Regions from separate parts of the Homo sapiens genome. Here regions 1, 2 and 3 are each linked to region 4. Evidence: promoter capture Hi-C in 16 types of primary human blood cells and fetal thymus (Javierre and others, 2016). All regions are on one chromosome and are shown on one strand. Each heading gives the region's core, a stretch centred on a gene start or on the middle of the fragment in contact. The rest is flanking DNA. Distances are from core to core; before and after follow the strand shown.

Region 1 (3,211 bases), core at 325-2,824, 1.0 Mb before region 4:
TGAAATTTCATGCTATTGAGACTAATAGTACATTGCCAAGAAGTCCTTACTAGGAAAGTCATTTATTAATTCATTTTCCACAGACAAATAAAGAGAGTCCAGGTTACCATTATAAACTCAGGAAAAAAAATAACAGAAAGGGAAGTGGGAACCAAGGAGCAAAGACAAGTTTGATCTGTGTCTTAACCTCTGTATGGTTGGCCCTGATGGTTATCGGGAAACCTCATTTATTCTAGAAATCCCACTAGTTCACTGAACTGGTCCTCTCTTTATTACACTAGACCATTGCCATTCTCAAGACCTTTGAAACCTGAGGTCTTTAATGCCCTTATTTAGTTATCCATGTAATTCTTAAAATTATGAATGGAAAGAAGATCATAATTTTATTTAGGATTTTGAGATCACAAAGGTATAATTAAGGGTCAGGAGAATCATAATCTCTGATTATTAGAGTGCCTAGGCTCTGCAGGATGGTTAGTTTTTTATAGACAGTGGATAAAGAAATGCATTTACCTTCATGAACTTTGCGGGGTCTGAGATTTTTACCCTACTTGGCAAGCTAACAAGCTAGCCTTCCGGTTTTATGATGTTGACAATAGACAGAAGATTCCTGGATCAGAATTAAAGAACAAAGGCAGTACCTGAGTGTCGCATTTGTTCGCATTGGTTCCCCATGCCCTATGATTATGCTGAGGGCAAGTCAAAGGATCCATAATGGATGTATTCACACACAATGGGCTGTGTTACAGAAGAGGAACACTGAGCTTGGAAAATGTATTACTTTTTTTTGAGACGGAGTCTCGCTCTGTCGCCCAGGCTGGAGTGCAGTGGCACGATCTTGGCTCACTGCAAGCTCCACCTCCCGGGATCACACCATTCTCCTGCCTCAGCCTCCCGAGTAGCTGGGACTACAGGCGCCTGCCACCACGCCTGGCTAATTTTTTGTATTTTTTAGTAGAGAAGGGGTTTCACTGTGTTAGCCAGGATGGTCTCGATCTCCTGACCTTGTGATCCACCTGTCTCAGCCTCCCAAAGTGCTGGGATTACAGGCATGAGCCACCGCGCCCAGCGAAAATGTATTACTTTTATAGTAAGTGGAAACAAGCCTGCTCTTTGTTTGGTCGGAAATGTTACCCAAATGGCATGGTGAAAAATGATCAGCATCTTGTACTCTTGGCATATTCAGCAAGAATGTGCAGGGACACTCAGGGCCTATGGTCATTGCCTCTCCCAACGTTGTCAATACAGATTAAGCATGCGCGGGTTTGTGGGCCACAACTTTTTGCCACTTTGCTACATTTTTTAACTTTTTTCTTATTTCTTAACAGTATTCTTATCTATTGATATTTCTGCTGTAGAACAGGCCGGTCAAAGTACAGAATAGCATTGAACATGCAATATTAGGTGTTTGTAGCTCTCATCATTATTATATAGTCTTATAGTTTCTCTAACGATCTCACTAAATAGGGTTGATAGACTGAAAAGGTAGAACTGATTCTTGGTTTGAGAGAAAGCAGTATATGAACTAATACATCCAATATAATTAAATCATACTCAAGCTCCTTTGTCCCCTTGCTTAGGTTTTGTTTTAAGGCTCCTATTCAGCTTCTGTTTCAGGATTAAATTGCTTATTAGCATGTAAGTGCTGACCTTAGCATTTTTTTTCTGGCTTTCATATGGACTTCACTGGTTCTCATAGCTTGTGGTCAGTTTCTAATCTTTAGTGTAGAAGGGATATCTAGGGTTGTAAGATAATATTTGTACATGTAAATGCACATAGTAATAAAATTGTGTATATTTAAGAAATAGGGCATCTTTTTCCTTTGTATTACTTTTAAACTGCAATTAATCAAATGCTTCGAAGATGCTTTATTTTCAAAACGTTTTCCTTAAAGTTCCCAAATTTTTAGCTTTTGATAGAACAAAAGGACTTGAGAGAGGACATGTATAATTTTAGGGATTTTTTAAAACGGTATACAGAAAGAGTTGCATGAGAATATGTTTTTAACATGTAATGCTAAATTAAATAAATATTTTTTCCAGTAATCAAGCCAACGCAGAACTAACTGATGACGAACATGAGAATGAATCGAAACATGAAGAACTGGCAGGTAATTTCATTGGTTCTTAAATTTATAATATTTGAAAAGATAATATAGCTTTTAATAAAGACATTAATAAGAAAAATAATTAAAAGGAAAATCATATTGTCTCAGAGCTTTGAATAGAGTGGGTTTGCCTGTGTTATAAACTGAGCTGCTAAGAAATTGTTGAAAGTGAACTGCCTTAAAAAGGTTTTTTTCATAGACTGCATATAGCTGGTTTTAGCATTTTTGTTCAATCTGACAGTCTCTGCCTTTTAATTGATGTGTTTTTACCCTTTACAGCAGTGTATTTATTGATATAGTTGTTTACGGTTTTGCCATTTGTTTTCTTTTCATCTTCTTGTTTTTGTTGCTTTTGTCCTTCCTTCTATTGTATTACTTATAGTATTCCATTTTATTCTTATTTTGGCTTTTTAGCTATTCTTCTTTGTTGTATTTTTTTCTTAGTTGCCCTATGAGTCACAATATATGTCTACCTTATCACAATCTACTTTCAAATAATGTTATATCACTGTATTTATATGAACTCTAACAACAATAAACTCTCCTCAACCATTTTGCTATTTTTGTCAACGTTTTTCTTCTACATGTCTTAAAAACACCACAGTGCATTATTATTATTGTTGTTAAAGCAATCAATTATCATTTAAAAGTACTTTTAAGGAATATAATAGATATTTATGTAAAAATGTGTATTTATCCATATATTTACCATTCCCAGTGCTTTGTATTCCATTGTGTAGATTTGAATTTATCTCAAATTATTTTTCTTCACCACGAAGAGCCTCCTTTCACATTTCTTGTAGTGCAGGTTACTGCTAGGAACAAGTTCTCTCAGCTTTTGTTTGTCTGAAAATATACTCTGCCTTTGTTTTTGAGGAATACTTTTACTTGATACAGAATTTTATGTAGTGTTTTTTTTTCCTTCGGGCAGTTTAATGATTTTATTCTATTGTCTTTTGACCTTATTTCTCATGAGAAGTTTCCGGTAATTCCTATTATTGTGATTTTGTATATATCATGTATTTTTTTTCTCTATTTTCAAGGTTTTATCCTTTTTTTTTTTTGGCAATTTGACTATGGTGTATCATGGTATGCTTTTCTTA
Region 2 (3,020 bases), core at 510-3,009, 1.0 Mb after region 4:
CTCACTCCATCACTCAGACTGGAGTGCAGTGGCAGGATCTTGGCTGACTGCAACCTTTGCCTCCTGGCAGAACTCTTCAGCCTGAAAAAGCGATGGTTGGGTAGGACATTGGGATAAGGGTATGTCAGAGGCAGAATATGCTTAAAACTTGCAAAATCAAGAAGACTGCTAATCAGGTAAAGTCAAATTTGTTGACAAAATATTGGGATTCAGGACTCTTCTTCAAGTCCTAAAGAGATGGTTTTTAAAATAAATTTAAGAAAACCTAGCTTTATATAGGAGCAATATCCAGTCATTTGAGAAAGCATTGCTAGTTATGTCTGGGTTGATTCCCTTTAACTGTTTTGGAGGCCAGGGTGTATATATTTGTTCATGATAAGGTGTAAATAGCTCTTTCATAAAATTTTAGATCTGAAGCCTTATTGATTAATTTTAATGTATATTCTCTTCATTTTATAAATTGAAGAAAGCTGGCCGGGCGTGGTGCTCATGCTATAATTCCAGTACTCTGGGAGGGCGATGCTGGTGGATCACTTGAGGCCAGGAGTTCAAGACCAGGCTGACCAACATGGTGAAACCCCGTCTTTACTAAAAATACAAAAATTAGCCAAATGTGGTAGTGGGCGCCTGTAATCCCAGCTACTTAGGAGGCTGAGGTAGGAGGATCACCTGAGTCAGGGAGGCGGAGGTTGCAGTGAACCAACATCATGCCACTGTGCTCCAGCCTGGGTGACAGAGTGAGACCCCATCTCAAAAAAAAATTGTACATATAGTGGTGGAGCCAAACTTGACCTGATGTTTCTCCCAAATATGGTTCAAGCTTTGCTCATGCTGATCTCTACCTAAATTTTTCTTTTTCTTCAGATAAAATTCTACCTATCCATAATTAAGGCAATCAAAATTCTCTTTCCTTTATAGTTTTTCTGGTTTCCCTCCATACACCCTCAAACATAAAGTAACATAAAAACAGTAGCATACATGGATCAGCTATGTTCTCATTTCCTTGTAACCCTATACCTTTCAGGGTACTTGTCATATTCTGCCATTACTTTTGTTTTTCTATTAATCTAGTCTTTTACTAAATTACTTGTACTTTGAGAACATAGACTAGGCATTCTTTTCTTTCTTGTATATGTGTATGTTTAAATCTTTTAAAATCTTGAACCATAACATAAAGAGGTAAGTGCACAAGACAAAAATATTTAGCTAAGTAATTTACCAGTAAGTCAAGAAGTGGACCATGACAGCACTTCAGAAAGAGGTCCTGGATTTGATTTGCTAACATTTCAATGAAGACTTTTGCATCTGTATTCATGAGAGATATCGGTCTGTGGTTTTCTTTTTCTTTTCCTTTTTTTTTCCTATCTTTTACTCTGGTATCACTGTAATAGCAGCCTTATAGAGTGAATTGGGAAGGATTCACTTTTATGGAAGTGTTCATAAATGATTGGTATTATTTCTTATTTAAATATTTGATAGAATTAACTAGTGGAATCATCCAGGTGTGGGATTTTCTTTGTGGGAAGATTTTAAATTATTATTATTTTTTCTATTTCTTTACATATTACAGGCCTGTTGAGATTTTCTATATGTTCTTTATTCAGTTTCAATAATTTGTTCTTTCTAGGAATTTATCTGGTTCATCTTAGTTGTCTAGTTTGTTCATAGTAGTGCCTTACAGTCCTTTTAATTTCATAAGGTTTGGTGGTCAAGTTCCTCCCTACTTTTGTAATTTTGGTAATCTTTATTTTCTCTCTCTCTCTTTTTTTTCTTTAACCATATCAGTCAACATTGAAGTTGTCAAAGAAGTTATTGAAGTCAAAGAACCAGCTTGGGGTTCATTGATTTTTCTCTGCTCTCTTTTCTTTTTCTTTGGTTCTGTTCTCTTTATTATTATTTTCTGCTTCCTTTAGCTTTAATTTGCTGTTCTTTTCTATACATTCAGGCTTAGAGAGTTCTCTTTTTCTCAAATACAGGCATGTAGACCTATAGATTTCCCTCTAAGCACTGCTTTAGCTGCATCTCATAAATTTGTATATGTCATGTTTTTATTTTCATTCAGTTCAAAATATTTTTAAATTTCATCTTGATTTCTTCTTTGAACTATGGATTACTTAAAAGTATATTGTTTAATTTTCAAGTATTTGGGAATTCTTACCAAATATGTGTTTGTTATTGATTGCTAATTTAATTTTGTTAAATTTGGAGAACTTATTTTGTATTGTTTCAGTCCTTTTAAGTTTGTTGAAATATCTTTTATAGTCTAGTATATGTGCTGTCTTGGAGAATGTTCCATGTGTACAGGAGAAGAATATGACTAAATTGACATCAATCTTATGAAATAGTAGCTTGTAGGACTTTGTATGATTGTATGTTTCCTGTGTTGAGGACATAAATGTGTCTACCTAAATAAAGGATAAGAATCTGAGGAACAAAAGAGATGGACCATATGGTAAGGGATATTGCTTATTTGCAGATCCATCCTTTGTTCTCTACTATATCTTGTGAAATTAATCTCTAGGACTTTACCAACCAGCTTATTTTCCCTCTGACATCCAGTTATCACCCTCCAAGTGATTCTGATGTGTACTAAAGTAGGTATTTTGAGCCGTAAGAGAAAGATATGCACAGGCTTGATAACCATTTGGAGCACCAGCAGAATATTGGCGTGTTGGCAGGAGAAAGAGAATGAAGCTTTTTTTTCTGCCCTCTCTCATGATGTTGTTATGAGCCACAATCGGGAAGGTCACAGCTCCTGTCGGGCAGCTCTCTCCGTATGACAATCTCTCCAGCTTCTGGGGATGTTGCTTTCCCACACCCTCAGGCCTAAGAATGGCAAAGGATCTTGCATTGTATCTAGCCCAACTAACTGCAGTATCCATTGTGGTTTTCCTACATCCTACCCAGACTTTTATAAATAATTTAATAATAATTCTCCCAAGTTGAAAGTGCTGTCTGTTTCCTGCTTGGACTCTGAAAGATGATCTAAGTAATGGAGAGAAGTAATAGAATGTAGAGAT
Region 3 (2,940 bases), core at 37-2,536, 1.0 Mb after region 4:
GGGTTTATACCTTTCTGATTACTTTGCTGTACACTTTAGGATTTCAGAGGAAGGTATTCAAGTGGTCATTTATCTGAAACTTCTGACTAATTTTCAAACATAGGAAAAATTTTTCCTTGGTAATAGCAACATGAGCTTAGAGTGCCACATTGAAGGGACTATCTATCCAAATTTTAAGAGTCTATTATGGCATATTAAGGAGAATTCTAGAAAGATGGGAAGAAAGATGCCATAAATTTTGACCAAAAACATAGGTTATTTTTCTTTGAAAAGAATTTGATAATTATCTGGCTGGGCATGATGGCTCATGCCTGTAATTCAAGCACTTTGGGAGGCCAAGGCAGGCAGATCACCTGAGGTCAGGAGTTTGAGACCAGCCTGGCCAACATGGAAAAACCCCGTCTCTACTAAAAATACAAAAATTAGCTGAGCATGGTGTTGCATGCCTGTAATCCCAGCTACTTGGGAGGCTGAGGCAGGAGAATCACTTGAACCTGGGAGGCAGAGGTTGCAGTGAGTTGAGATCATGCCACCACACTCCAGCCTGGGCAACAGAGCAAAAATCCTTCTCAAAAAAAAAAAAAAAAAAAAGAATTTGATAATTATCAAATACAAGTGATATTTGTTATACATTTATTTTATGAAAACATGATTGGAAAACTTAAGTACAAACATGAGTAATGAGTTTTATGTATCTTAGTACACTAAGAAAATTTATCTAACTGACCAATTATAGATAATTTAGATAATTATAGATGTTATGGGTAATCTGAATTTTTGAGAATTATAGATATTCTGAATTATTATCATCAAGGTGAGAGGTATCTGAATTGTCTACAATTAGTAATTTATGCTCTTTTTAAGACTATACAGGCATACTTTGGAGATACTGCAGGTTCGGTTCCAGACTACCTTAGTAAAGCAAACATCGCAATAAAGCAAGTCACAAGAAATTTTTGGTTTCCTGGTGCCTGTAAAAGTAATGTTTATACTATACGTAGTTTGCTAAGTGTGCAATAGCATAATATCTACAAAAAAAAACCTTAATGTAAAACTATTTTATTGCTAAAAAATGCTAATGGTCATCTGAACCTTCAGTGAATCATCTTTTTATGGTGGAGTATCTTGCCTTGATGTTGATGACTGCTGACTGATCAGGGTGGTGCTTTCGTCACTAAGCTTAATTATTTCTAGCTTTTGATTTAAAGTGAGAGACATGTGACTTTTTCTTTCACTTGAACACTTAGAGGCCACTGTAGGGTTATTAGTTGGTCTAATTTCAATATTGTTGTTTCTTAGGAAATAGGGAGGCCTAAGGAGGAGAGGGAGAGAGATGGGAGAACTGCCAATTGGTGTAACAGTCAGAAAACAAACATTTATCAATTAAGCTTGCCAACTTGTATGGATGTGGTTCATGGTGCTCCAAAACAATTATAATAGTAACATCAAAGATCAAGATCACCGTAACAGATATAATAATAATGAAAAAGTTTGAAATACCAGGAGAAATACCAAAATATGACACAGAGACACAAAGTGAGCATGTATTGTTAGAAAAATGGCACGATATACTTGCTCCATGCAAGGTTGCCACAAACCTTCAACCTGTTTAAAAACACAGTAACTATGAAGCACAGCAAAGCAAAGCACTTCAGTATAAATTGAAATTACTGTTATTAAATTGTTGAATAATTTTCTTTCTTGAATTCTTAGAAGGCTGCAAAGTATTTTAACCTGAACTCTGGATAAAACATTAATTATTGAGTGAATATAATATGATATAATTTTTCATGTGATTATAAAATTATGAGATAGCCACATAATTCAGTATATCACTTGATTTTTAATCAGATACACATAGAATGTAAATACTTGTAATATATGCTTGAAGTAAAAATGGAATAGATTGTTTTCCTGAGAACATATCTCGTATGCATTGGTTTTAAAGAAAAAATTGGAACTTTTTTTTTGTTTTTGAGACAGAGTGCAGTGGTGCAATCTTGGCTCACTGCATCCTTGACCTCCTGGACTGAAGCAATCCTTCCACCTCAGCCTCCTGAGTAGCTGGGATCACAGGTGTGCATCAGCATGCTCAGCTAATTTTTTATTTGTTGTAGAGATGGGTCTGTATATCCCCAGCTGGTCTTGAACTCCTAGGCTCAGCAGTCCTCTTGTCTCCACCTCCGAAAGTGTTGGGATTACAGGCATGAGCCACTGTTCCTGGCTGAAGTTAACATTTTAATCAGATTTACAGATTGTTATTTATAGAATGTATTCATGACTGTGATGATTTATCTGTTTTTTTTTTTTTTTTTTTTTTCTGAGACAGAGTTTTGCTCTGTCGCCCAGGCTGCAGTGCCGTGGCGCAATCTTGGCTCATTGCAGCCTCTGCCTCCTGGGTTCAAGCACTTCTCCTGCCTCAGCCTCCCGAGTATCTGGGATTACAGATGCACACCACTATGCCTGGCTAATTTTTGTATTTTTAGTAGAGATGGGGTTTCATCATGTTGGCCAGGCTGGTTTCGAACTCCTGACCTCGTCATGATCCATCCACCTTGGCCTCCCAAAGTGCTGGGATTACAGGTGTGAGCCACCACGCCCAGCCGATGTAACTGGTTTTTAAAATCCTTCTTAAAGGTACATCATTACCTGAAGTATCATCTAATAAGATTTTACTTCTTCAAAAGATTTTTAAAAATATGTTTACATTAATATTAAGGTTAATGTGCAATTCATTAGCAAAACACAAATTAGCACTCTAAATATACTTGAGGTTGTGGTAGGATTTTCACTAGTTTGTTCACACATTCATTCACCTAGTCTGTAGAATTCCCAGTGTTTATAGTTGTACTCCTGCTGCTGACAGTTAGGTGTGGCAATGGAAAGTATTAGGGATAACTGGGTTTTTGCATTAGATTGAAGTTCCAACCAGGCAAATTT
Region 4 (3,045 bases), core at 142-2,641:
TACCTTGGGCTCTTCAATCTGGAGTGTAATTACAAATTCGATTTTTGGTGGCAGCGCCTCCCTTGTGCCTTCCAAATACCTCTTTATATTCGTCAGGGCATTTACATCTTCAAGTTTTACTTCTCCTTGGTTAGGAAACATAGAAAACAGCATTTCCATCTCCAGTAGCTGAAGCTGAAGGCTTTCTTTCACCGAAGCAGACATGTTGCCTCGCAATCAGCCTGCCTGGAAACCTCACAAGGCTCAGGGACGCTGGGTTTGTCAATGCCAGCCGGTATCCAGCGAAATTTCCCGAAGGTCCCTTTACGTGGAAGCAATTCTGCAGGAACGCTTTGCACCGAGAGCTAGGGGCACAAACCAGACACTTGCACTCTTCTTTATTTCCTGACTCCAAAATCTAGTATGCACAACATCCTCTAAAACACTCCGTAAAAACCCATATTCTGCGTACCCGGGCTCCGGGTTCCCGCCTCCCGCACCCCGCACTAGATAGGGGAATCTGCACTTTCAACAGGTGTTTGGAACTGTCCCGCTGCAGGTGGCAGGCAGACACCTGCAGACGCTCTGCAAGCCTGAATTCTGGGAAAGGCTGGGGCCCGGCTTCCAATCCCACCCGGGGCTCGGGCTTGGGCGGAGCCAGACGCTGCGGCGAGAGAGGCCGCAGTGCCAGCAGGATGGGCTCCGAGTTCCCCAGCGCCAGTCGCCACCCCTCGGTCCTGGACTCGCGGACCGCCCCCCCCCAACACCGCGGTGGCCTTTTCGCTTGGGCCGCATTCCAGGGCTCCGGACGTTTACGATTCACTGGCCTCTGCCCCGAGGGACCCAGGATAAGGGTAGGGGGTGTCTCAGAGGTCATTAAATAAAAGATGTTTACAGTGAGCTGGGGGAAGGGGGTACCCGGGGAGACGGCAGCCGGAGAAGGCTTCCCAGATTCAAAGGTTTGGGAGATGACCTCGACGTCGGAGAGGGGGATGCGGGCCGCCGGCGGCGCTCACTGTGGGCGAGGTCGCCCTGTCCGAGGCCCAGCGACGGGGCTGATTCCCCACCCCCGCCCCTAGCCAAGACCACTAGGAACCCCGGCTTCCCAGGAACGCAGGGCCTGCCGCCCCCAGAGGCCCGGATTTGGAGGCGGAGGCTGTGCCTCCGCGGCCGCAGTGCTCTGAGGGCCCGCGACCCTCGGCCCCAACCCCCGGGCCACCGCGGGGGCCTCACCCTTTCTGGTCACTCAATGGTAACAGCCCCAGACCCCGCTCGGAACCGCAGCCGCAGTTCCTCAGGCGCCAGCTGCGCGCGACCTGCGGCGAGGCGGGGGCGGGGCTGGCGGATAGTCCTCTGCCGTGATTGGCCAGGGGGCGTGGCGACGAGCCGGAAGCCACGCAGGGCCACGTCTGCGGTTCTGAGGACTGGGTTTGGGTGCAGACGTTGTTGCTTGGGCGCTTCTCCGCTGCGTGTAGGTGAAGGGGGCTTCCTGACCGAGGTAAGCCGGGCCCCGAGGCTCGGAGTTGAGAAGGGAGACTACCGGTCGGCAAGGGCTCGGTGGGAGCGGGACAGGTCAGATTCTCGGCCCGACGGAGGGGCTAGTGGTCTGGCGGGCGACTGACCGAGCGGCGGAGCGCGCGGGACACACCTACAGGCCCCTGCGCCCCGCGGGCGGGCTGGTCGGGACGGGCCGCGGGTCTCCTGCCGGGGCTCTGGTACGTGGACCTAGGCGGGGACCTCAGGGTGGAGTGCCGGGAATCACCCTTGTGCGGTGATTCGAGGGTAGGCGGGAGAGAGGCACCAAGGAGATTTGAAGATTGAATGGAGAGTAGGGGGATACTCTTAACTTTTTGCGTGGACGCTGGATTTGGCAAATATGCTTTCAATAAAGGCATTCGCAGAGGCATTGAAAGTAGTTGTAGGGCCTAAAACGCATGAAAGGATGAACTCATATTATCTGGACCTTTTTTTTTTTAATGGCTTTTTGGAGTTAACAGGACTGGTTTACACTCTTATGAATAATCATGACACATAACTGACTGCTCAGTTTTTACAAATATGTATTCATCCTTAGGAAAGAGATCTGATCACTGTCTTGAACTAAATTAGTTTACTGAATGCCAGCTTTTTCCAACTGGACAAAAGCAAGTATTTTTCACCATTTCTTGCAAGTTCTGTTCATTGAAGCAATGAAGGACAATAAAGAAAACAAAATTATGAGGCTAGCAGCTGGCGGACTGCTCCTCATCTCTGGGCTAATTGGGAATTAATTGACCCAGGAAATGTAGTATATGGACTACTGAAGGAAAACTACTGACTGAGGTTGGAAACCCCAAGTTCCACTTAATGGGAGTATCCCAGAGAAAACAGTATTAGTGGGCTAAGGGCCGATTTTTTGTTGTTGTTTGTTTTGAGACGGAGTCTCACCCTGTCGCCCAGCCTGGAGTGCAGTGGCGCGATCTCGGCTCACTGCGACCTCCACCCGCGGGTTCAAGCGATTCTCCTGCGTCAGCCTCCTGAGTAGCTGGGACTACAGGCGCGCACCACCACGCCAGGCTACTTTTTGTATTTTTAGTAGAGACAAGGGTCTCACCATGTTGGTCAGGCTGGTCTTGAATTCCTGACCTCGTGATCCGCCCGCCTTGGCCTCCCAAAATGCCGGGATTACAGGCCTGAGCCACCTCACCTGGCCTGTTTTTTTTTTTTTTTTTTTTTTTTGAGACCGAGTCTCCCTTTGTCACCCAGGCTGGAGTGCAGTGGCGCGATCTCGGCTCACTGCAACCTCTGCCTCCCGAGTAGCTGGGATTACAGGCGCCAGCTAACACGCCCGACTAATTTTTTTGTATTTTTAATAGAGAGGCGGTTTCGCCATGTTGGCCAGGCTGGTTTCAAACTCCTGACCTCAGGTGATCCGCCTGCCTTGGCCTCTCAAAGTGCTAAGATTACTGGCGTGAGCCACCGCTCCCGGCCGATGTTTTATTTTTAAAAGTAAAGGAAAAAGGTGGCATTCTTTCAGAAGAAGATATTGCTAGTTTTAGAGCAACATCTTAGAAGGGTGTCCTGATT

The links. The method cuts DNA at HindIII sites, captures the fragments that hold promoters and counts their contacts. A CHiCAGO score of 5 or more calls a contact.
Region 1: a fragment that was not itself captured here is called in contact with the fragment with the promoter of PGM3 in region 4 in 3 of 17 cell types (total B cells, total CD4 T cells and naive CD8 T cells); the score reaches 6.6 in total B cells.
Region 2: a fragment that was not itself captured here is called in contact with the fragment with the promoter of PGM3 in region 4 in 3 of 17 cell types (M2 macrophages, non-activated CD4 T cells and total CD8 T cells); the score reaches 10.5 in M2 macrophages.
Region 3: a fragment that was not itself captured here is called in contact with the fragment with the promoter of PGM3 in region 4 in 6 of 17 cell types (M2 macrophages, fetal thymus, naive CD4 T cells and 3 more); the score reaches 8.0 in M2 macrophages.

What each region holds. Positions count from the first base shown.
Region 1 is chr6:84,211,857-84,215,067 of GRCh38, reverse strand. It overlaps CEP162 (centrosomal protein 162), which reads left to right. Exons shown (of 27, transcript NM_014895.4): 6 at 2,044-2,111. Among named protein-coding and RNA genes, the nearest start is that of CEP162, 14 kb to the left of the region's middle. The HindIII fragment of the contact is 3,592 bases long and covers 1-3,211 here.
Region 2 is chr6:82,166,383-82,169,402 of GRCh38, reverse strand. No RefSeq gene overlaps it. Among named protein-coding and RNA genes, the nearest start is that of LINC02542, 66 kb to the right of the region's middle. The HindIII fragment of the contact is 1,874 bases long and covers 823-2,696 here.
Region 3 is chr6:82,184,565-82,187,504 of GRCh38, reverse strand. The region is part of intron 25 of IBTK (inhibitor of Bruton tyrosine kinase); the gene reads left to right. Among named protein-coding and RNA genes, the nearest start is that of IBTK, 62 kb to the left of the region's middle. The HindIII fragment of the contact is 209 bases long and covers 1,182-1,390 here.
Region 4 is chr6:83,191,611-83,194,655 of GRCh38, reverse strand. PGM3 (phosphoglucomutase 3) reads left to right here and starts at 1,391. Exons shown (of 13, transcript NM_015599.3): 1 at 1,391-1,477. RWDD2A (RWD domain containing 2A) reads right to left here and starts at 1,299. Exons shown (of 3, transcript NM_033411.5): 1 at 1,213-1,299; 2 at 4-344. The coding sequence starts at 204. RefSeq lists silencers at 1,001-1,370, 1,671-1,740 and an enhancer at 929-1,428. The HindIII fragment of the contact is 15,181 bases long and covers 1-3,045 here.